2 separate regions of the Homo sapiens genome follow, and region 2 is linked to region 1. Evidence: promoter capture Hi-C in 16 types of primary human blood cells and fetal thymus (Javierre and others, 2016). All regions are on one chromosome and are shown on one strand. The core of a region is centred on a gene start or on the middle of the fragment in contact, and the rest is flanking DNA. Distances in the headings are between cores, read along the strand shown. Region 1 holds the start of NUP42 (nucleoporin 42). Region 2 has its middle 23 kb from the start of STEAP1B-AS1.

Evidence for each region. Contacts are between HindIII fragments. The CHiCAGO score rates a contact against its expected background, and 5 or more counts as called.
Region 2: a contact is called between a fragment that was not itself captured here and the fragment with the promoter of NUP42 in region 1, in 1 of 17 cell types (monocytes). The highest score is 5.6, in monocytes.

What each region holds. Positions count from the first base shown.
Region 1 is chr7:23,179,566-23,184,075 of GRCh38, reverse strand. It overlaps NUP42 (nucleoporin 42), which reads right to left and starts at 2,028. Exons shown (of 7, transcript NM_007342.3): 1 at 1,870-2,028. The coding sequence starts at 1,990. RefSeq lists enhancers at 1,664-1,733, 1,834-2,433. The HindIII fragment of the contact is 4,881 bases long and covers 968-4,510 here.
Region 2 is chr7:22,584,391-22,588,900 of GRCh38, reverse strand. No RefSeq gene overlaps it. Among named protein-coding and RNA genes, the nearest start is that of STEAP1B-AS1, 23 kb to the right of the region's middle. The HindIII fragment of the contact is 2,258 bases long and covers 919-3,176 here.

The DNA of each region.
Region 1 (4,510 bases), core at 779-3,278:
AAAATCATTTTAGCAATCTCATTTACTCATCACTTCCTAGTTGGGGCCAAGATTAAGGTAATTCATCTTGTTTCTGACTGAATAAAGAGATAAGCCATTAATTATATTAAAAGTTAGAATGACACACATGCCCAGTTGTGAAAGTTCATCCTGCAACTCTAAACTACCCTAAAAAAAAAAAAAAAAAAAGTGGAGATTGCTAGACCAGATCCCTCAAGTAGAAGTTAATGGTATCTTCTTCTTCTAAAGTTCCAAATTCACTGGGGGATGATACAACTGAAGAAACTCACTTCCTCCTTTTTTTTTTTTTTTTTTTTTTTTACATTGCTTTTGGTCTTCATACTTATAATTCCAGAAACATTCATTTGTTTCTGGGAGCTAAATACAATTTGTCTGCCAAATTTTGTTTACACTCACATTCATCAGACATGAGTCCTAATTTTCGGTCTGAAATATTTCACTAGATTAATTGTGGAGGAAATAAAAGGACTGTCTTCCCTGAAGTGGGATCAGACGTGAAACCATCACGCAATACAAGGTTTAAAGGTTAGATGAGGCCCGCCGCGGTCGCTCACGCCTGTAATCCCAGCACTTTGAAAGACGGAAGCGGGAGTATCACCTTAGGTCACGAGTTCGAGACCGGTATGGCCAAAATGGCAAAACCCTGTCTCTACTAAAAATACAAAAATTATCAAGGGCATGGTGGCGGGCACCCGTAATCCCAGCTACTCGGGAGACTGAGGCATAAGAATCGCTTGAGCCTGGGAGGCGGAGGTCGCAGTGAGCCGCCTGACTGAGAGAGCAAGACTCCGTCTCAAAATAAAATAAAAAAATAAAGGTCAGATGAATAGCCCTAAAGGAGGGGAAGGAAGGGAGACAGCACCGAATTATTAACCCGATCTTTAAAAATCTTGTGTTGTTCTAAGGTTTCATGTCTAATCTCTCCTTTCCTTGAAGATAAAAAGCTTTGACAATGATCTAGGCCCAGGGACTAGATCAACGTGGCCCCCGCATCTCCTTTCCTCACCTCCCGGATAGCCCTTAACTGGGCGTCCCACATTCCCAATTTCACCCCAAATTTATGAGCAGGTGCATTTTTGCGGTATGGCTCTATAGGTTTTATTAGATTTTCTTTTTTTCTTTTCTTTCTTTCTTTTTTTTTTTTTGATAGTCTCGCTCTGTCGCCCAGGCTGGAGTGCAGTGGCACGATCTCGGCCCACTGCAACCTCCACCTCCCGGGTTCAAGCGATTCTCCTGTCTCAGCCTCATGAGTAGCTGGGATTACAGGCGCGCGCCACCACGCCCGGCTATTTTTTTTTTTTTTTTTTTTTTTGGTATTTTTAGTAAAGACGGTGTTTCACTATGTTGGTCAGGCTGGTCTCAAACTCCTGACCTCGTGATCCGCCCGCCTCGGCCTCCCAAAGTGCTGGGATTACAGGCGTGAGCCACCGCCCGGCCGGTTTTATTAGATTTTTTCAAAGAAGTCCACGACTTCTCCAAAATGAAGTCCTGATTCTGACCCAAGCTGCTAGCCTCACCCTCGAAAAAACAACTTAGTAAAAATTATATTCAATTCCGGCATTTACCTACAAGGTAGTTTCGATAGGTACTTCCGATTTAAAAACTCAGTTTCGCACAAGCATCCAGGCCCAAACCCAGGTCCTCAGAAGCTCAATAAAAACGGACCACATGAATAATATGTAGATAAAACCCTCGGTTTAAAAACGTTGTGCAGGGCCCAGTAGGGCCGGCAAGGCCGCGACGCGGGCACGTTGGGGTCACCAGCAGCGGGAAACACGCGGGACGCCCGGTCCCCGCCGGCGGACCCTTCCCGGCTCGGTTACCGCGGAGGATTCAGAGGAGAGTCACCTGAAGGCTGCTGCTGCGGTTGCTGCCGTCCTCCTCCTGCACCCCTAGCACCGGGATGTTCGTTCCAGCACCGATCTCCAAAGCGGCACCGGCCTTGAAGGAAGAATTGACAAATGGCCATTGCGACGGCGTCGCTGACGGAGGGCGTCTTCAGTCTGCACCGTTCGATGCCTGTTACTGGGCAGAGAGCCCTAAGGCAACCTCGGCGCCCGGCCGGGCTACTGTGACGTCATCTTCTCGCGCCTGGGAAGGCCTTTTTCCGCCTCTCACCCGGCAGTGCCATGAGACGCATGGACTTGAGCCAATAGGACTTGAGAAGAGCGGACCGCTCTGACGCTTTGAGTGTGTCCTGGGAAGGAGGGATGCTTGAACGGTTACGTGAAGACCGGAGGCGCGTTTGACCCCGGTGCAGGGCCTCGGACTACAGGAAGGCTGGAGGTCCAAAATGAGAGGAAAGCGGAGCAAGCAAACGCAGAACTTCAGCAAGGCCCTCAGAGGAGAATTAGCTATGATTTGAGAGACTGAGTCGTTCTTGCTGAGACGGTAAAACTTAGCTTGGGCTGAGAAAGTAACAAACTGCCTAGCCTTTCATCTGGATGGATAACAGAGTCAAATAAAGCCAGACGACGTTAAGAGGAAACAATGTTTCTTTTAGGACATGCTGCAACGGAAAAGTATTACCACTTAAGTACATTCTTACTACACACTGAGAAACCTTGTTATTTCTTCTTTTTTTTTTTTTTTTTTGAGACGGAGTCTCGCTCTGTCGCCCAGGCTGGAGTACAGTGGCAGAGCTTGGAGGCAAGCTCTGCCTCCAAGGTTCATGCCGTTCTCGTGCCTCAGCCTCCCGAGTAGCTGGGACTACAGGTGCCCGCCACCACGCCCGGCTAATTTTTTTGTATTTTTAGTAGACACGGTTTCACCGTGTTAGCCAGGATGGTCTCTATTTTCTGACCTCGTGATCCGCCCGCGTCCGCCTCCCAAAGTGCTGCGATTACAGGTGTGAGCCACCGCGTCTGGCCGAAACCTTGTTCTTTCAAGTCCACATAAACGTTGCTATTTGAAATTATATCAGAACGAGTGAAAAGTCCCATCCTTGCCTGGAGGATCTAAGTCTCTTTGACGCAGAGAAGCAGCCTCAATTTCTATCCAGGTGTAGAGCTTCAGATAAACGGTTCTGAAAACATTCTGTATTTTCTTAACTTTGCAGTTTCCAAGGAAACATGCCCTACATTCAATTCTCGTCCAGACCTGATGTTAATGCCTTTACACACAGCTATGCTTTGAGATTTCATTTAAATTTCACCTAAACTTCACTCTCCCCGCCAAAACATACAATAACTACCTTTTATTTTGTACGGTGAGACACACCACAGCTCCTCTGGTGTGCAGTCTTCTTGATTGCAATAAGTCAATAGATCTGACTTTGTTGGATTACAGGTTTGTGCTGGTGGTTTTAGGATTATTGAGCTGGGAGTGAGCCATCATTCTTGCTCATGTAATTTGTTTGGATTTTGAAGACAGCAGAATCTACAGGACGGGAACTACTTGTCCAAACTAGTTTTTTATTTTCTTTAATCAATGCAATTCATTTATTTTGAAACAAATTTATGGAAAAGTTACAAATAACAGTACAAAGAACTTTTTTCCTGAACCATTTGAGACTATGTTGCAGACCTAATGCCCCATGATCCAAATACTTATTGTATATTTTCTACAAACAAACCAGGGCATTCTACATAACCACAACACAGCCAACAAAATTAGGACATTGATACTGATGCACTACTACTCTCTAATCCTTAGACTCCATTTATGTTTTGCCAAATGTCCCAATATTGTCCTTTAGAGGAAAAGGGTTCAGTTCGGAATCATTGTTGCTTAGTCATATTTCTTGTGTCTCCTTCAATTTGGAAGATTTTTTGTTTTTCCTTTTCATGACCTTGACACTATTAAAGACTACAGGCTGCTTATACTGTAGAGGTTCCTTAGTGCAGGTCTGTTTGATGTTTTCTCTTGATTAGATTCAGATTATGCATCTTTGTCAGGATTATCACAGAAGTGATGCTGCGGTTTTCACATTGCAGGTTGTGCACAATTTCAATTTGTCCTGTTACCTGTAATGCTCAATGGATTACTTGCTTAAGGTGGTGTCTGCCAAGCTGCTCTACCATAAAGTTATTCTTTTCCTTTTTGTTATTAATAAGAATTTTGTGGGGAGGTACTTTGAAAGTATATAAAAATCTGATTGTTCATCCAACTTTTAGCTCATTCACTTATTTATTTATATCAGTATGGACTCATGATTTCCAATGTTATTCAATGGGTTATAATCCATTACTATCATTATTTATTTTGATGCTCAGATCATCTCCAATTTGGCCAATGGGACCCCCTTTAAGCTCCTTTACACATTCGAAAAAGGAGAAAAAAAAATTCCCCATGATTACTTGAGCACTTTTTTACTTTCTGGTGCAGAGATGTTCCAGGCTCATTTTTACATTCTCTACTCCAGTCCTGAAATCAGTTATTTCTCCAGGGGTCCTTTTGGTGCTGCTTAGAAACCAAGATCTGAGCTTTAATGTGCTTATTGCTACTGGGATGTCTTTGCTGTCATGAACATTGCTGGGAAATACATATG
Region 2 (4,510 bases), core at 798-3,297, 600 kb after region 1:
TAAAATAAAGAGGTCTAGCTGGCAGCACCAGGGCCATCAGCCAATAGTGGGATTAGGGATGGCTACTACTGGAAAAAACTGCACACTGGGATTGCCTCTTGTTCAATATATGACATCTGCATTGATTCTAAATCCTCCCTACATGGAATTAGGCAATGGTGTGCTGTTAGCTTGCTCTTTGAAAAGAAAGAGAGGAAGAAAAAAGATCCTGGTCTGTAATATCAGCCAATATTTCAGTGTAAATATTCTGACTGTGGCCAGCTTCCAGCTACCAAGATTGACCTGCTCAAAAGATTCCTGAATATTTAACAACCAGCTCTCTGGGGCTGGTACCCACAGCTCCAGCATACCACTGGCTAAGATACAGATTGCTACTCACCACTTCCAGCTTTGGCTTTGCCACTATTAGATGTATGCTCTGTAGCAAGCTCTTAATTTCCTCAAACTGCAGTTCTCTTTTGAAAAATGGGAGCTGAGATGATGCAGTAACGATATTTAGAGTCTCTGCTGAGCCTACACCACTCTTCTCTGAGAACCGCATCCTTCCTGGTGCTCCCTACTGGTGCCATATTCCACCTGATTTTTCAACTTCATTTTGGAGTCTAGCAGATATCCCAACTGCTTCCAATAAATGCCCTTCTGCACTCAGGCCAGTCTGAGTGGGATTTTGTAAGTTGCAACCAGCAGCGCTCTAAGTAAGGCAGAAATGATTTCCAAGGCCTTTGTGAGTTCTGATATTGCACCATTTGTTCTCAGAGTGTGCTGCCGACCAGCAGCATCAACTTCACCTGGGACATGTTGGAAATGTCAGTTCTCAGGGAACCACCGCAGACCTATTAAATCAGAAACTCTAGGGATGGGACCCAGCAACTTGTGTTTTTACAAGCTTTCCAGGTGATTCCCATGTGTTCTCAAGCTTGAGAACTGCTGCATCACTGTTCTAAGGATGGTATGACTTATTTGAGAAAGGCATTTTCAGACTGATCCAGTTTTCTTTTCTGATTAATGAAGGCCAAAAGTTAATGTTTTACTGGTAAAAAAAATTGATTTTTATAAACGAAACATATTACTATTACAACTTGAAAGACATCAATTTCCTTTTCTCCTTCTTTCTTATTTTAGTTTCAATGGACAGAGACTGACGTTTCAAAGACTAGCCTAAAAGAATATAAGGAGAAGAAAAGTGTAGAGAATGAAAATACTGCCAATAAATAAGCGGAAATAAAAAATATGCACCAGATAATTTCAAGATAGTGAAGGCCAGAAAGAAATACAGAACAGGAAGCCCAGATGCTGTGTGGTTTTTGCATTGGAAAAGATTTCACAAAATGTGCCATTAACACATTGAGTGACTAATCATTTCTGGCATTAGGAAACCATTTAAGAGTCCACTAATGATTGATTTACATAAGTACAGTAAAAAGTGAAACAGGAAACTTTGACTTAACTTCATCCTGACATATATCAAAAGCACAGTTTTCACTGTAAGATTTGGAGAGATGTGGCTAGATAGCAATTTTCACTATAAAATAGTCTTGAACAGACCATTCGAATGGATAGAGCTTGTTGGTAAGCTGGTTGTTTGAAACTAACACTTTTTTTTGTATGGAAAATCATGCCTTTGGAGAGCAGACTGCAGACTGGACGATGGAATCCTTAATGGAAGTAAACTGGAGGGCTGGTAATTGGTAATCATGCAGGTGATTGGGAGGAGAGGGGCCCAGGAGAGGAGCTGCACTGGGTAGAGAGGGGAGAGAGGGGAGAGAGGGGAGAGAGAGAGAGAGAGAGAGAGAGAGAGACAGAGAGAGAGACAGAGAGAGAGACAGAGAGAGACAGAGAGAGAGAGACAGAGAGAGAGAGAGAGAGAGAGAAAATTGGGGAAGGACAGAGTCCTCTAGTGGGAGGAATGCAGTCTGAAAGGGGCTCCCTTTCCAGAAATGTCAACAGTATGGGGCCTGAGGGTAGAGGAAGGTTCTGCAGCTGAGTGACTGAGAAAAACAAACTGTATTTTTCACCATGCTTACACTCACACTTCACTTCTGGCTGCCAAATGTATAGGGGTTATTCTGTGTGGGAATAATTCTCCAGTTCTCTGCAGACACCAACTGGATGTCCAACTCCAGGCTGCACTGATGAATACAGAGCACAGACCCCACAAGACTGCCCCTACTCCAGTGCCAGTAGTAAGTCCCAGCTTGTGATCTGTACTCTGAATCAAGGGTTCCCATGACCCCCTTCTCAGGTTCAGTCATTTACTAGAACAGCTCACAGGGCTGGGAAACACTTAATGTTTACTGGTTTATTACAAAGGCTACAGATAAACAGTCAGATTAAGAGATACACAGGGTGAGGTCCGGAATGGTGCAGGGCACGGGAACTTCTGTCCCTGTGGAGCTGGAGTGTGTCAGCCTCCCAGCACATGGACGGATTCTTATTCACAAACCCAGAAGCTCTTTGAGCCCTGTCCTATTGGGTTTTTATGGAGATTTCACTATGTAGGGCATGATTGATTTAAATCATTGGCCGTGGTGATTAACTCAACTTTCAGCCCCTCCCTGAAGGTGAGAGGCTGATGCTGAAAGTTCTAACCCTCTAATTACATACTTGTTTCCCCTGGCAGCTAGCCTCCCTCCAAGGCTCTCCAGGAGGCCCCAGCCGTTAGTCATCTCACCTTAGAATACAAAAGATACCCTTCTGAGATTATATTAAGATTATATTATAATATTTCTTATTATAAATCACAATATCTCAATGACCAAATATGTATGTTATCAGTATGTTGGACAAACAAGTTGGGAGCTGCCCTACTTGCAAACCGCTGCTGTGCCCACACTCCATTGTGGTATAGATGTCTGAAGCGAGTTTGAATAGCACAGTGGTTATGACTTTTGGCTTTGCTGTCAGATGGATGTTGGTTGGAACCCAATTCCTCCAGTTACCTGCTGCGAGACTTTGGGCTAGTTACTAAAACATACTGTGTCTTAGTTTCCTCACCTATAAAATGGTGATGATAAGGTAACAATAAAAAATATATATGGCCCGTGCCACCAAATATGTATATAACTGTGCCACCACCACAGAGTTCCTAAACTTTTTAAATTTCCTGAATGATAGAGGTGCTAGGTACATTATTGTTCTAATATTTAGTCTGTGATCCTGATTCCTGACACAAAGCTTCTAATTCTTTGGAATTTTCTGGGTAATAGGAGCTTCTTTTGTTCGAATAAGACAACTCTTGCTAGACTCCTAGAAGGGGGCTGGTCATCAGAAAGATTAAGCCATGATTAGAAGGTTGGAATTTTCAGCCCCATTTTCTATCCTCCAGGGAGGAAAGAGGGCCTGGAGATTGAGTTACTAATTGGTCATTCCTATATAAAAATCCCTCAACTATGAGTTTCAGGGAGCTTCCGGGTTGGGAAGCATACACAGAAGCTGGGAGCATGGTGCATTTCAATTCCACGAGGACAGAAGCTCCTGCACCCGGCCCCTTTTGGACCTCACCCTCTGTATTTCTTCATCTGGCTGTTCATCTATATCCTTTATCCTATTTTTTAACACAATAAACTGGTAATGGTAAGTTAGTGCTCCTCTGTGTTCTGTGACCCTTCCTAGCAAATATTCAAACCTGAGGAGGGTGTTGTGACAACTCTGATTAATAGCCAGTCCATCAGAAGTACAGGTGACACCTAGGACTTGTGATTGGCATCTGAAATGGGGAACAGTCTTGTGGGATTAAGTCATTAACTGGTGAGGTCTATGCCAACTCTGATTAAAATCAGAATTGAATGGAATTTTAGGACATCCAATTGATGTCCACAGGAGAATTGAATGTGTGGGGAAAAAACCCACATACCTGCTCACAGAAGTGTGTTGAATGTGAACATACAGAGAAAGTTTATTTTTTTCTATACAATAAAAATAATAGGGTTTACCTGACAAAGTTGTTTTGAGAATTCAGTGATATATTGCATGTAAAACACTCATCACACTGAGCATTTAATGTGTGTTAGATATTGTCATTTGTAATTAATCATTGAGATACCTTAGATGATTCTCATTCTTTCTGAAAAAGATAGTGATAGATCAGCGTTTAGTTAGAGAGTTCAATTAGCTAACACATGTATGAAGTATAAAGAGGACTTAGTTAATGGTTGTAAGAAATTGCATCTACTTCTTATGTTAACTGGTGGCCCACATCTCTGAATCTTCACAGAAGATCCTACCAATAAAAATTCATATTAGGAGCACGATTTATAGGCACTTTTATTTTTTATTTATTCCTATTATTTATAGGAATTATAGAGAAAATAAACATAGGAAAAACTTCCATAATAACTTATGATGCAGAAAGAGGTATTTATTATTACAGTGCTTATTTCCTTCAATATGACTGCTGTTTGAAGGAAATAGGAATTGAAAACAAACCCTGCTAGTAATGTAGGGAAACTGCCTGGATATATTTAGCCAAGGGCCCAGCTCTTCTGACAGCCCCAAATGCTAAAAATATTCA